2 separate regions of the Homo sapiens genome follow, and region 1 is linked to region 2. Evidence: promoter capture Hi-C in 16 types of primary human blood cells and fetal thymus (Javierre and others, 2016). All regions are on one chromosome and are shown on one strand. Each heading gives the region's core, a stretch centred on a gene start or on the middle of the fragment in contact. The rest is flanking DNA. Distances are from core to core; before and after follow the strand shown. Region 1 has its middle 19 kb from the start of EIF1B. Region 2 holds the start of ZNF621 (zinc finger protein 621).

Region 1 (6,733 bases), core at 1,580-4,079, 200 kb after region 2:
TAATAATACGTTTTTATTCTGGTGGTTGGGGTGGAGTGGGGTGACAAGCCATGGTACCAAACCCAGTTATTAAAAGCTGGTGCATTTGAGCATGGTCCCTGTCTCTGATGTTCTCCTCTCAACCACGCAAGGAGGCCCGGTCTTCCAGAGTGGACTCAGCCACCTCACCATTTCATGTGTATTCATCCAGAAACTGGGCTTGGGAGAAACTTCCCTGGGGCCTTGGGCTAAGAAGCACGCACTCCATGGAGTTCTGCAGGCAAAGGTGCAGACATGAGGTAGGGAATCGTCAGTGGTCATTTGGTGTCCCATACATTCCTTGTTCCTTGTGTGTACAGCTCCCTTAAAGATGTTATGGAGATAAGGGATGGCTGGACCCAGCCAAGTTGGGGGCATTTGTAGGGTTCATGGACCCAGGCCAAATTGTTATCTTAAAACTACTGAAATCTTTCCATGGTTCCTAACACCCATCTCTGATTATTTCCCTAGCATAGGTGCCTGAATGTGAAAAGATATGAACATTTTAAGGAGCTTGACATAAAATTTCATTTGCATGAAATTCATTCAAATTCATTCAAATGTCATTTCAGAAAGTCATACCAATTCACATTTTCTCCAAAGAGATGTGCGTTTCCACTGTACAGTGGCTTCACCAACAATGGATGCCACCATTTAAAATAATTTTATTTATTGTTTTTCTCTATCTACAAAAGTAATAATGATGTTCTTTATAAAAGTTTTAATGTTGACAGAAATATACAACTGAGAAAATGAAAGCCCTCCCATTCCTCCTATTCCCTTGGGTAACAAATGCAGAGTGGCTTCTCCTAGGTTCATCATCAAATCGGGCACCATAACTTCCAGGCTCCTCCTCCTGGGTCCCTTAAGCAGCCATTTGGGAAAGACCAGGTGCAAAAAGGTTCTTGGGCATAGACCTGACTTTCATGGGTGTCAATGAGCGTTTTGCTCCCAACTATCCAGAGATAACCCCCATAAACCGTTAGATGAATATTTATTTATGCAGATATCTTCTGCGTTTATGTTATGATGGAATTTTGGGGCTTTGTTTTTTAACCAAAATGATGTCACACCAGATATACTTCTTCAAAACTAGCGTTTTTAGTGTTCCATATGGATTTCTTCTGGGCCCTCTTTATACATTCCTAAAGAAACTCATTCATTCATGGCTTTAAAAATATTCTATGGGCTGATACCTCCTGAATTTATGTCTTCTCTGAGCTCCAGACTTACAAATCCAACTAGTTGCTTGACATCTCTGATTGGATGTCTCTTAGGCATTTAAAACTTAACATGTTCAGGGTAGGTGTGATGTCTCACACCTGTAATCCCAGCACTTTGGGAGGTTGAGGTGGGAGGAACATTTGAGCCCAGGATTTTAAGACCAGTTGGGCAACATAGTGAGACCCTGTCTCTATTAAAAAAAAAAAAATTCAACATGTTCAAAATGGAATTCTTGTTTCCACTCCTCAATCCTGTCTTTCTACCCCAGCCTCCCTCATTTTAATAATGTCACTCCCAGCCACCCAATTTCCAAAGATAAAATCCTGGAAGTCATCTTTTCCTTGCCACTTATGGCCAACACAACAGCAAGTCCTGTTAATTCTATCTCCAAGCGAGTCTCTTGTCCACCCACTTCTCTGCCTCTTTACCACCATCATTCCACGTGTAGTAGCCTCTCATTGGCCTTTTCGCCTCTGCTCTTGCTTTCTGTACGTTCCTCTCTCTGACTAACAGCCATAATCAGCTTCTTAGAATAAATCCAATTGTTCTGCTCCCATGCTTGGAACTCATCAATGCCCTCAGATAGCATTCATGCATCTTGCCATGGTCTGTGAGGCCCTGTCTAATTGGCTTGCTTCTCAGCTTCACTCCTCTCATGCCAACCTATGTCCCCATCCTGTGCTCCAATCACTCAGGTCCACTGCTTTCTCACGGGAAGACTTTGCGTTTGCCAAGCCCTCCTTCTGAAGCTTGCCACCTCCCACTCTTTGCCTGCCTAAATCCTTTTCAGTTCTCATTGATTTAACCATTCTCCTGTTGTTTCAAAATTTTCAGTGTTATAAACAATAGTGCATTGAACATCTGAATGCATTCAATTTTGTCCCACGGCTTGATTGTTTACTTGTCATAAATTCCCAGAAGTGAATTGCTAGAGGGAAGGGAATTCTTATGTTAAATTTTGGTGTGCACAACATTGTAATGTCTTCGTGATCCTGCTGATTTTCCTCCCTATATTCATCCTCCCAGGAGAAGCAGACCCCAGATGAGGGTTTCAGTGCATGTGGTTTCCCCTGTTGCCAAGCAGGAAGCCCCACTCCCTGCCTTCCAGGAGTGCAGATACCCCTTGGATGGAAGCCTGGAGGCCCCTCCAGGCCTGCCTGCAGCCCTCTGAGTCAAGGGCTTTGTAGGGGTCTGTTTGGTGACTGGTCTTCCCCACTTTCTCCTACTTCCATCTTTCACTAGAGTGTTGGAGCTGTCTTTCTAGGCTGCCTTTGGCCCCATCCTTATGATAGATAACAGAAAAATGCTGCTGTTTCAGACAGATACAGGGTACCTTTTTCTAGTTTCCAGAATGAAGGCAGGTTTTTCCATATTTTTATATTCTGTAGGCTAGTGTTTCAAACATGCCTGATCTCACGAATCCTTCTGAGCACTTGTTAGAAATGTAAGCCCCTCTCCTCCACAGAGATTCGAGTTCAGGATCTGGGAGATGACAGGTCTTAAGAGTTTGTGTTTTTCACAGTGTCCTGGTAATTTTAATGATCAAGGAAGTTTAGAAAATGATTCCATAGGTCATTTCCATGAGGCACTAGAAGTAGCTCCAGGTGTTCAACTCCAGTATTCACATTGCCATTTTATGCGTAAGTCTCACATTTCCTAAAAAGCATAACCAAGCACTTTCTATGGCAAGGCATTGAATTTGATGCCATACACATCATCTCATTTTGTGCCGAGAATAGTCATTCTGATCCGAGGCACAATTATCCTTAAGTTGCTGCTGAGAAAACTGAGGCTGTGAGAGACTGGCTGGCTTTGGCTTGATCAGGCCATAAAGCTGGAAAGTGGTAGAGCCCGAATCTGAATCCAGGGCTTCTGATTCTGAGTCCTGGCATGGCAGGCCAGGTCTCACTAACAGCTGAACAGGCAAGCCTCCATGACAACTGTTGCGGCACTGACTGAGTGGTTAGGTTAAATATTAAAAGCTAATAGAGCCAGTCTCCTTATGCAAAGGCTGGAATGTAACAAAGCCCACCAAGAGTTTTGCCTAGGCCTTTCCTGGGCCTTGAAGCCTGACACGATAACGAAGGAATTCTTAACAGGACCCATGTAGGATTAAACAAGTTTTATTGGGGGTCTGAAGAAACTCCCCAGACCTCCACAAACAAGTTTTACTGGGCAGGGGGGTGGGGAGGATGGTCTAAAGGAACTCCTCAAACCTCCATGATTTAGCAGGAGACGAGATAAGGGTAATCACTCCGGCACCTGGAGCCATCTAGATTAAGTAAATTTACTGAGGCTCCAGAGAAAGGTCTTCAAAACTCAGACCTTAGTTATATTAGGAGAAGTTAACCACTTATGTCTTTAGATGAATGCACTTACACATAGACATATAGCTTAGAAGGTATATAAACAATGGAAAGCTTTGTAATTTTAAGTTGGTCTGCCTACCCGGTTACAGAAATAAATTCTCTTCTCTCCCAGTTCATCTGCATCTCATTACTGGGCCTTGAGAATAAGCAGCCCGACCCTGGGTTTGATCCGGTAACACTGGGGCATCTCTGAATCAACCACATTGATGCCTGTCATTATGCCACTCTGCACTGCCACGAACCTCTACTCCTCAGAATGTGGCCTGCAAACCCAGATGGCCGGTATCCCCTGGGAGCTTGTTAAAAATGCAGAGCCTTGGGCCACTCCAGGCCTCCTGAGTTGGAATCTGCATTTTAATAAACTTGCCTGGTGACTCTCATTCATATTAAAGAATAAGAAGCCCTCAGGAGGCTGCAGAGGGATTGGAGATCAGGTCACTTGAGAGAGAGAAGGGGAATGAGTGTGTGTGTGGGGGGGGGGCGGGTGTGTGTGTGTGTGTGTGTATACTTGTGAACACAGGCCAGGCATATGTGTAGTTTGGAAAGGTCTAACAGCTCAGAGGCACCATGTCTTCCCTCAGATAACATCACTTCCACATCCTGTTTGTTGGAAAATTGTTCCCAACTAAAGGCTAAGATTTTTAACTCTTGAAATTGAGTTATGTGCGGACTGCTCATTTGTGATCCAAAACGTCAGCTGAGAGACTGCACCAAGAGAAACCTCTCCAGGGAATGGCTGAGTAGCTTTCGCAAACATAGGGACACAGGAAAGCAAGTGCTTCTTCCTTCTGGGAGGTTTCTAGACTTCTGGAATGAGAGGTCCCCTGAGGGTGCATTGCCAGACATTTCTCTGCATCTTTAAAACCAGAGTTTTTATTTGTTATGTTTTTTTCTTGAGTGCCTAGAGGATCTAAGAGTTTAGCCAGTATCATATAACCTCTCAACTCTTCTGATGTTGGACCTTTTCTCTGAAACAAACTCAAAGACAAGCAAGCAAATTAGATGACTACAGCATACAAAACATAAAGGCTGGACCTAAATGGGTCAATAGCACCATCTCTTGGCCATGTGTGAGTACTGCATCTACCAGTTTTCAACTAGTGAAAGTACAAAACACACCTGTGGATTTGCGGTTAACTAAAGCAGAGTAAAAATATCCCTGCCACACTGTGAGGCATAGAAACACCCAAGATAATGAGAAAGTGGAAAGTTAATGCTGTCTTCAAGGAAATCAGTTAACACCTAATTATATCCACATGTAATATTTGAATTAGTTTTGCCACAAGTAGTGAAAACGAACAAGGTTGAGGAGGATGCCAACAGCACTGCGTATTTCTGAAGGCTTTGAGCAGGGCGATAGACCACAGAGCTCCCCAAGGAGTGGAGGACACCTTATTAAACAGGCATTAGAAAATGGTTGTATGTAGGCCGGACGCGGTGGCTCACGCCTGTAATCCCAGCACTTTGGGAGGCCGAGGCGGGCGGATCATGAGGTCAGGAGATCGAGACCGTCCTGGCTAACACGGTGAAACCCTGTCTCTACTAAAAATACAAAAAATTAGCCGGGCGTGGTGGCGGGCGCCTGTAGTCCCAGCTACTCGGGAAGCAGAGGCAGGAAAATGGCGTGAACCCGGCAGGCGGAGCTTGCAGTGAGCTGAGATCGCTCCACTGCACTCCAGCCTGAGCGACAGAGCGGGACTCCGTCTAAAAAAAAAGAAAGAAAGAAAGAAAAGAAAATGTTTGCACGTGAATGTTAACAAAAATACTAAATATCAAAATCTGCAGGCTGCGCAAGGGAAATTTACATCCTTACGTGCTTACATTCGAAAAGAAGTTAAAAGTTAATGGGCTAAGCAACTAAATTGAGAAGTTACAAAAAGAATATGCAAAGAAAGTAGGAGGAAGAAAACTCATAAGGGAAGAAACTAATAAAACAGAAAATAAGCATGTAATAGGAAGAATCACTAAAGCTAGAGGTTGGTTTTTTGAAAAGATGAAAGAATAAAAACTGATAAGCCTCTGGCAACACTGATCAAGAAAAAAAAAAAGAGAAAAGTTGCCAAAAAAAAAAAAATGGAGCTATAACTACAAAGGGTTAGTCCCAGGGTTCCACAGCTCTGCTTGTAAAAAGACGATTGAAATTCCACATTAGATCTCACCCTTTCACATTTTCATATCCTTTCCTCTTTGATTTCCATAAAGATAGCATGACCAATGTTTTCTCCCTTGATATGTAATAATGAAAAGCTAACATTTGTTAAATGCATATTATGTGCAAAGCACTATGCAATAAAATCCCCACAATGAGTCCCTGAGGCTATCATCATCATCTCCACTTTATAGGTATGGAAACAGAGGCTTGGGAGATATATCTCCACTTTATATATATGGAAATGGAGGTATCTCTCAGTTTGTTAGAAATCAACAAACTGAGGCTTTTTGATTTCTAATATGGCACAGCTAGAAATCAACAGCACCAGGATTTTGACTGGGCAGTCAGGGCTTAGAGCGTCTCCTGGTCACAGGAGCTGACAGCAGAGCCAGGACAGAATCTAGGCCTTTTAGCAAAAAGTCCTCATGACACCAACACTGCCTGTGTCAAAAAGGCAATTCTGAATGATGTTTTATTTTTTTCTCTCCCTCTCTAAATTGAACAAGGATGTGTGTTGCAACTCTGGAATCCATGGAGGCAATTTCGGTCCTCGGACACAGGTACTAACATGGCCCTGACCACCTGGGGAAAATATCCAAGGACCTTAAGGCCAAGTGGCCTCTAACTCAGGTCTCTCTCTGGCATGCTTTGGAAATGTCTCTCTAAATAGGCTTTTATCCACTGTTACTGGGCTAACCTACTTTTAGGGGCTTCAGGTTAAAACCTGAGGCCAACTGTGGTGCTGCAAATACTATTTTAATTGGAATGAGCTGCTTAATCAAAAGTTCTTGGTTCAGTGTGTGGTTCCTTCAAGTGCCATGATTCCTGTGTCACATTAAATCCAGGGTCAGAAAACTGTGGATCTCAGACTAAATTCTGTCCTACCTATTGTTTTCATGTGGTCCAAAAAGTATAGTTAACTATAGTTAAGAAAGGAATTATCCCCCATTTAAAAATGGTTAGTGAAAAA
Region 2 (6,840 bases), core at 3,457-5,956:
AGGTGACAGAGCGAGACTCTGTCTCAAAACAAACAAACAAACAAAACAAACAAACAAACAAAAAACAAAGAGAACCAAGGATTTCCCTACCCAGTATTTCTGGAGGCTGCTGATTGCAAAACTCTCCTCTGAAGTCATCAAACCCAAGGGCTACTAGAATCCCCAAAACATCTGAGGAAGATAGCAAACTGTTACAAAGGGCCACAGAGGGAGGCCTTACCCAGAGAAGCCACATTTGCATAATTCTCCAGCATCACCTCCCCGTACAGGGCCCTCTGCGCAGGGTCGAGGCTGGCCCATTGATTCTGGGTGAAGTAAACAGCCACATCCTCAAAGGTCACTGACTCCTGAAACAACAGGTTCCTGCTCAATCTCTGAGTGAGAAGTAGAAGGAAGAAGGGAGCAGCTTGAGCTTCAGGGAAGGGATAAACCTGCCTGCATCCACAACTCTGAGCCCCATGTAAGGTCTGCTCAACAAGAACACCCACCACCACAGCCAGGGGCGAGCCCTCAGCCAGTAGTTCCACTTTCAAATGGGGAGCCCCAACACTCTCCCATCTACCCAGCTCTGGAGCCCGTAACTGCTGCTGATTCTTACAGCTTGGCACCCAGGCTGAGATTACAGGCATGTGTGAAAAACTAGCAAACAATGTTTTGGAGAAAACAACTGAAAACAAAATGAGGGGGAATTAAACTGTATTTTAAAAGGATAACACATTAAGAAAATGAGAAGACATGCTAAAGTCTAGGAGAAAATATTTGCTGAAGACATATCTGATAAAGCACTATTATCCAAAATGTACAAAGAACTCTTTATGAACAAGCCAATTAAGAAACAGGCAAAAGACCTCAACAGACACCTCAACAAAGCAAATATACAGATAGCAAATAGGCATATGAAACTATGCTCAAGATTATATGTCATTAGGGAATTGCAATAAAAACAGTGAGACACCACTACATACCTATTAGAAAGGCCAAAATCCAAAACACTGACAACACCAAATGCTGGCCAGGATGTGAAACAACAGAACTCTCATTCACTGCTGGTGCTAATGAATGCGAAATGGGACAGCCACTTTGGAAGACAGTTCGTCAATTTCTTACAAACTAAACACACTCTTACCATACAACCCAGCAGTCATGCTCCTTGGTGCTTAACTAAATTTAGGAGTTGAAAACTTATGTCCACATAAAAACCTGTACATGGACATTTACAGGGGCTTTTATTCATCATCGCCAAAACTTGGAAGCAACCGAGATGTCCTTCAGTAGGTGAATGGATAAGCTGTAGTATATATAGACAATGGAATATTATTCAGCACTAAAACAAAACGATCTATCAAGCCATGAAAAGACACAGAGGAAACGAAATGCATTACCACTAAATGAAAGAAGTCAATCTGAAAATGCTACGTACTGTGTGATTCTGGCTATATGACATTTTGGAACTGGCAAAACTATGAAGAGAATACAAAAATCAATTGATGGTTGTCAATTGGGACGGGACTAAGGGGAAAGTAAGGATGGATAAGAGGAGCATAAGGTATTTTTAGGGCAGTGAAACTATTCTGCTTATATAATACTATAATAGTGGATATGTGTCATCCATCAAGAGTGAACCCTAATGTAAACTATCAACTTTGGATGACAATGATGTGTTAGTGTAGGTTCACTCCTTGTCACAAACGTGTTACTCTGGTGTGGAATATTAATATTGAAGAAGGTTGTGTGTTTTGTGGTGGCAGGAGATAAATGGGAACTCTTGCTTTCTGCCCAATTTTGTTATCAACTAAAACTGCTCTAAAAAACTATTTTAAGTACCAGTGTTGAATCGTTTCAGGGTAAGTTATTTCTCAATCAAACCACATATGCTGTTTAGGACATATCAGAGAATAAGGAAAGAAAAAAAGCATTTCCATTCTTTTAAAGACACTGACATTTTACTGTGCTGATACCAGACTTGTATTTGAACTTCTATCAGAACTTGTATATACATGTGTAGGGGCAGGGAATATATGGGAAATCTCTGTACCTTCCATTTAATTTTGCTGTGAACCTAAAACTGCTCCAGAAAATAAAAACTACAAATAAATTAATTACATTAAAAAGTAAAATGCAGCCTGGCCAACATGGTGAAACCCCATCTCTACTAAAAATACAAAAATAAGCCCAGCATGGTGGTGTGCACCTGTAATCCCAGCTACTCAGGAGGCTGAGGTAGGAGAATTGCTTGAATCCGGGAGGTGGAGGTTGCAGTGAGCTGAGATCATGCCACTGCACTCCAGCCTGGGTGGCAGAGTGAGACTCTGTCTCAAAAAAAAAAAAAATTTAAAAATGGACAACACTTGCCAGGCACAGTGGCTCACGCCTGTAATCCCAACACTTTGGGAGGCTGAGGCAGGCGGATCACCTGAGGTCGGGAGTTCGAGATCAGCTGACCAACATGGAGAACCCCCGTCTCTACTAAAAATACAAAAATTAGCCGGACGTGGTGGCGGGCACCTGTAATTCCATCTACTCGGGAGGCTGAGGCAGGAGAATCACTTGAACAAGGGAAGTGGAGGTTGCAGTGAGCGAAGATCGCACCATTGCACTCTAGCCTGGGTGTTGCAGTGAGACTCCATCTCAAAAAAACAAACAAACAAACAAAAAACAGGTGCATGCCTGTAATCCCAGCTACTTGGGAGGCTAAGGCAGGAGAATTGCCTGAACCTGGGAGGTGGAGGTTGCGGTGAGCCGAGATAGCGCCATTGCACTCAAGCCTGGACAACAAAGGCGAAACTCCGTCTCAAAAACAAAAAAAATAAAAGGACAACACTTAATATCTTCTTAATTGACCAACACCTTTCTACCATCAATTTGCCACTAAGGGCTAGGAAAATCTTTTTAATATGTAAATCCAACCATGTCATCCCCCTGCTTAAAATTCTTCAGTGCCTTCCCAATGAACCAGTACAGAAACCACTGTCCTCACCATGACCTATAATACAGGTATCTATTTCTTCCATCTCATATTGAACCACTTTCTCTGACCCCTTCCAGTTTCTAGAGTACATCCAGCTTTCTCTGCAACTTCAGAGTCCTTGCATCTAGCATTTAGAAAATGTATATTAAAGCAACAATACTAGTCTCTCTGGGATACATACAATACAATTTGTGGGCAATCTCTCCAATAAAGAATTTCTGATTTCAAGCTAGTGCGGTGGCTCATGCCTATAATCCCAGCACTTTGGGAAGCCGAAGCGGGTGGATCACCTGAGCTCAGGAGTTCAAGACCAGCCTGGCCAACGTGGTGTAAACCCCGTCTCTACTAAAAATACAAAAATTAGCCACACGTGGCGGCGCACATCTGTAATCCCAGCTACTTAGGAGGCTGAGGTATGGGAATCACTTGAACCCAGGAGGCAGAGGCTGCAGTGAGCCGATATCATAGTGCCACTACACTCCAGCTTGGGCGACAGAGTGAGACTCCGTCTCACAAAAAATGAGTCTGATTTCAGTAGGTGACTTTCATTTCTAGAACACGATCTGGATTTCCACATTCAGAAAGAATTTCTTGGTATAGGTCCCCTTTCTTCCATTTAAATCTATACATCCAAACTCATCACTCTCTATACACAAAACTTTCATTTCCCCAGCACATATTTACATCTGCCATAGCCCTGGAGATAGATACAAAGGGGAAAACACAGCTTGGCCAAGTTAGGCCTTCCTCATCCTTTCCTGATTATCTGATAGCTAATGTGAGTAAAAAAACATAAACAAACAAACAAAAAAACTGAAAGAAGCTCAGCTCACCTGAGGCCAAGTTGTTTGGAGCATGGCGGATGTCCCCTGGCTTCATGCACTGTCTTCTGGGTTTGGACAAGCAAGATCCTCAAGAGCTAAGAGAAAAAGAGCCATGAGTGCTAAGGACCCTGTCGTCCACCACCTACAGCAACCTATGGCCCTCCCAGTTTCCACATTTCCAGCACTGGATGCACGGAGATTCTACTAGGACTCCCTCTAATTGTTCTCACGCTGATAGCCCCAAACTTCTTATGAATTGTTCTGCCTAGTCTTCAGGACAATCTTCCACCTGCCTGCTCAGTCCGAAGAGCTTTTTTTGAGCCCATTCGTACGGGTAAACTGAGGGACCCAAGAGCCCTGTCCCTATTGTGTTGGGTCTCTACAAACGTAAAGAGTCTTTACAGAATGCTTACAGGGACGATGACGTGGACCCAAAAGAAAGAACCTCAGGAGAAGAGGGACTGGGGTGGCTGAATGCGGATTAAGGGTAAAATACTCAGCGTCCCAGTGGGTGATGCTGACCGGAGACCCCACCCAACCGTGATCTTAACACTCCACCCAAGAAAACAGGCAACCCCAAACATCAGAAACGTCAGTACCGGGAGCCAGAGGCTGTCAGGGCAAGTTCTTTAGGGCAGAAAAGAGGATCAGGCCTCGGTGGCAAAGGGCTGGACACGGGCTCTAGAAGCCCGAGCAGCCACCTTGACGGCTTCGGCGAGGCCCAGATGCCCACGGTCCGGGTGAAGGAGGGGCGGGCCGCCATTGGGACCAAGTTCAGGGGTAGTGGGGGCTGACGAGCCGCCAGGGGCAGCGAGGAAGCCGGCACCGGGCGGACCTGGCACGTAGAACTCGCTGAAACCCACGCTCTGCAGAACGCCGAGGAGCTGGTCACTAACTAAAGGCCGAGCCGGAAGGGCGAGTGCACGCCCAGGGTCCCTCTAGGCCCCCGGAGGCCGCCATCTCGGTCGCCCCGTGGCCAGACCCGCCCCGCCTTTCATGGCTGGCCCCGCCCTGCGGAAGAGGCGAGGTTGCGGCGACCGGCTGGGCTGAGAGGCCGGCGGCGGGCGTGGAACTGTGGCGCTCTAAGCCCGGCTTTCTCCGGCAGCCGTCGGCATCGCCTCTGGCTGGAGTGTCACGGACTGATACAGCCTGGCTCTACCGAGACCTCGCCCTCTAGGCACAAGTGGGCCCCCAGTTCACGGGCTGCGCCTCAGCTGTTGGCCGCCTTGGCCCCGTGGCTCACCTGAAGCCTGGGCCGTGCAGGTGAGGGGAGAATGGCGCCTGCTTTGTCATCTCTAAGAGGCCCAAGCCCAGGATCTTGCTTGGGTCCTCAGCTGGGCAGTCCTCAGGGAAACCATGGTTTCCACTCGCCGTTTTAGCCCTCTCCCTTCCAAGGACCTAGATGTGCGTAGAACCTTTTAGGACAGATTCATTTAACAACCAAAACACCCGTGGCTACATACAGTTGCTAGGCATCCTGTATACACAGGACATGTCCTATATTAAATGATCTTGTCCTGTGTTGACTTTGGGAGGACACCCTAAATGTCTTATATTTAGCTTTTTCCAATAAATTACAAAAACTCGTAGTTACAGCTATTTTTCTGCTCAGTAACTGGCACTTAAATAAAATGTTAACACCAGCTGAAATATATATATCTCATACTTCCATAAATAATGATCTGGACAGACCTTTATGGTCTGTTCTGTTAGTTGGACTGCAGGAAGAAAAAACAGTGAAGAGGGGAGGCTGCTAATTAAAAGAACTTACTTTTCATATTCAGGAAAGGAAAAGACTGTTTTTTGACCAAAGTCCCAAGTCACTAACAAGTACTTGCCATTAATTTACATAATTTTAGATCAGTACACGTACTCTGAAAATCAACCAGTACACAACAGCCTCACTCCAAGCTTCTGAACATGAGCCAGTCAGTGATAAACACTTCCCGAAGCCAGCCAGTGGCAGCTCTACCCAGCTCATTGGCAAGTACCTCACTACTGTGCCCTTCCTTCTGGACAGGAGCCTTTCTCCAGTATCAAAGTGGTTGCTAAGATGGACAGACTTTGTTTTTTTTTTTTTTGCTTGTTTTTTGTTTGTTTGTTTTTTTGAGACGGAGTCTCGCTCTGTCGCCCAGGCTGGAGTGCAATGGCGCAATCTCGGCTCACTGCAAGCTCTGCCTTCTGGGTTCACGCCATTCTCCTTCCTCAGCCTCCCGAGTAGCTGGGACTACAGGCACCCCGCCACCACGCCCAGCTAATTTTTTGTATTTTTAGTAGAGACGGGTTTTCACCGTGTTAGCCAGGATGGTGTCGATCTCCTGACCTTGTGATCCGTGCACCTCGGCCTCCCAAAGTGCTGGGGATTACAGGCGTGAGCCACCGCGCCCGGCCCAGACTTTGTTTTACTTTAATCACGCTGATAACTTCTCCTGAACACAGTTCCAGATACCAGGCTCCTCACCACCAAGCATTTCCATGCTATAAAGGGGAATTGGTCTCCCACCACTAAAAGATAAAAAATGATCCTGGATATCTAGATATATTGCTTTATTACAGGGGTCCCACTTCTTGGATTTGTTATTCCTTTCTTAAGAATTAGACTGACTTATGAAGTCCTATTATGGAGAGTATCTTAGGTATCTACTGCTGCATAACAAATCACCCTAAAACCTTATGGCTGAAAACAAAACACACTTATTATCTCTTAAAGTTTCTATGAATCAGTGAACATAGTCAGTCAGTCCTAAAAAGAGAAAAAGGAAAAAAAAAAAAGGTTCTGTGGATGAGGAATTCGGGAGTGGCTTGGCTGGATGGTACTGGCTTGGGATCTCTCATGAGGGTCTAGTCAGGTGTCACCTGGGACTGCAGTCACTTGAAAGTTGGACTGAGGCTGGGGATTTGCCTCAAAGGTAACTCACTCACATGGTTGGCACATAGATGCCAGCTATTAGTGTGAAACTTCCCTTCCTGCGCCGGGTGCAGTGGCTCAGACCTGTAATCCCAGCAATTTGGGAGGCCAAGGCAGGCAGATCACCTGAGGTCAGGAGT

The links. The method cuts DNA at HindIII sites, captures the fragments that hold promoters and counts their contacts. A CHiCAGO score of 5 or more calls a contact.
Region 1: a fragment that was not itself captured here is called in contact with the fragment with the promoter of ZNF621 in region 2 in 1 of 17 cell types (megakaryocytes); the score reaches 5.1 in megakaryocytes.

The regions. Positions count from the first base shown.
Region 1 is chr3:40,325,740-40,332,472 of GRCh38, reverse strand. No RefSeq gene overlaps it. Among named protein-coding and RNA genes, the nearest start is that of EIF1B, 19 kb to the right of the region's middle. The HindIII fragment of the contact is 1,671 bases long and covers 1,994-3,664 here.
Region 2 is chr3:40,522,826-40,529,665 of GRCh38, reverse strand. ZNF621 (zinc finger protein 621) reads right to left here and starts at 4,706. Exons shown (of 5, transcript NM_198484.5): 1 at 4,392-4,706; 2 at 3,802-3,887; 3 at 221-347. The coding sequence starts at 3,825. RefSeq lists enhancers at 4,225-4,364, 3,924-4,736, 5,015-5,104 and a silencer at 4,665-4,824. The HindIII fragment of the contact is 8,303 bases long and covers 1-5,705 here.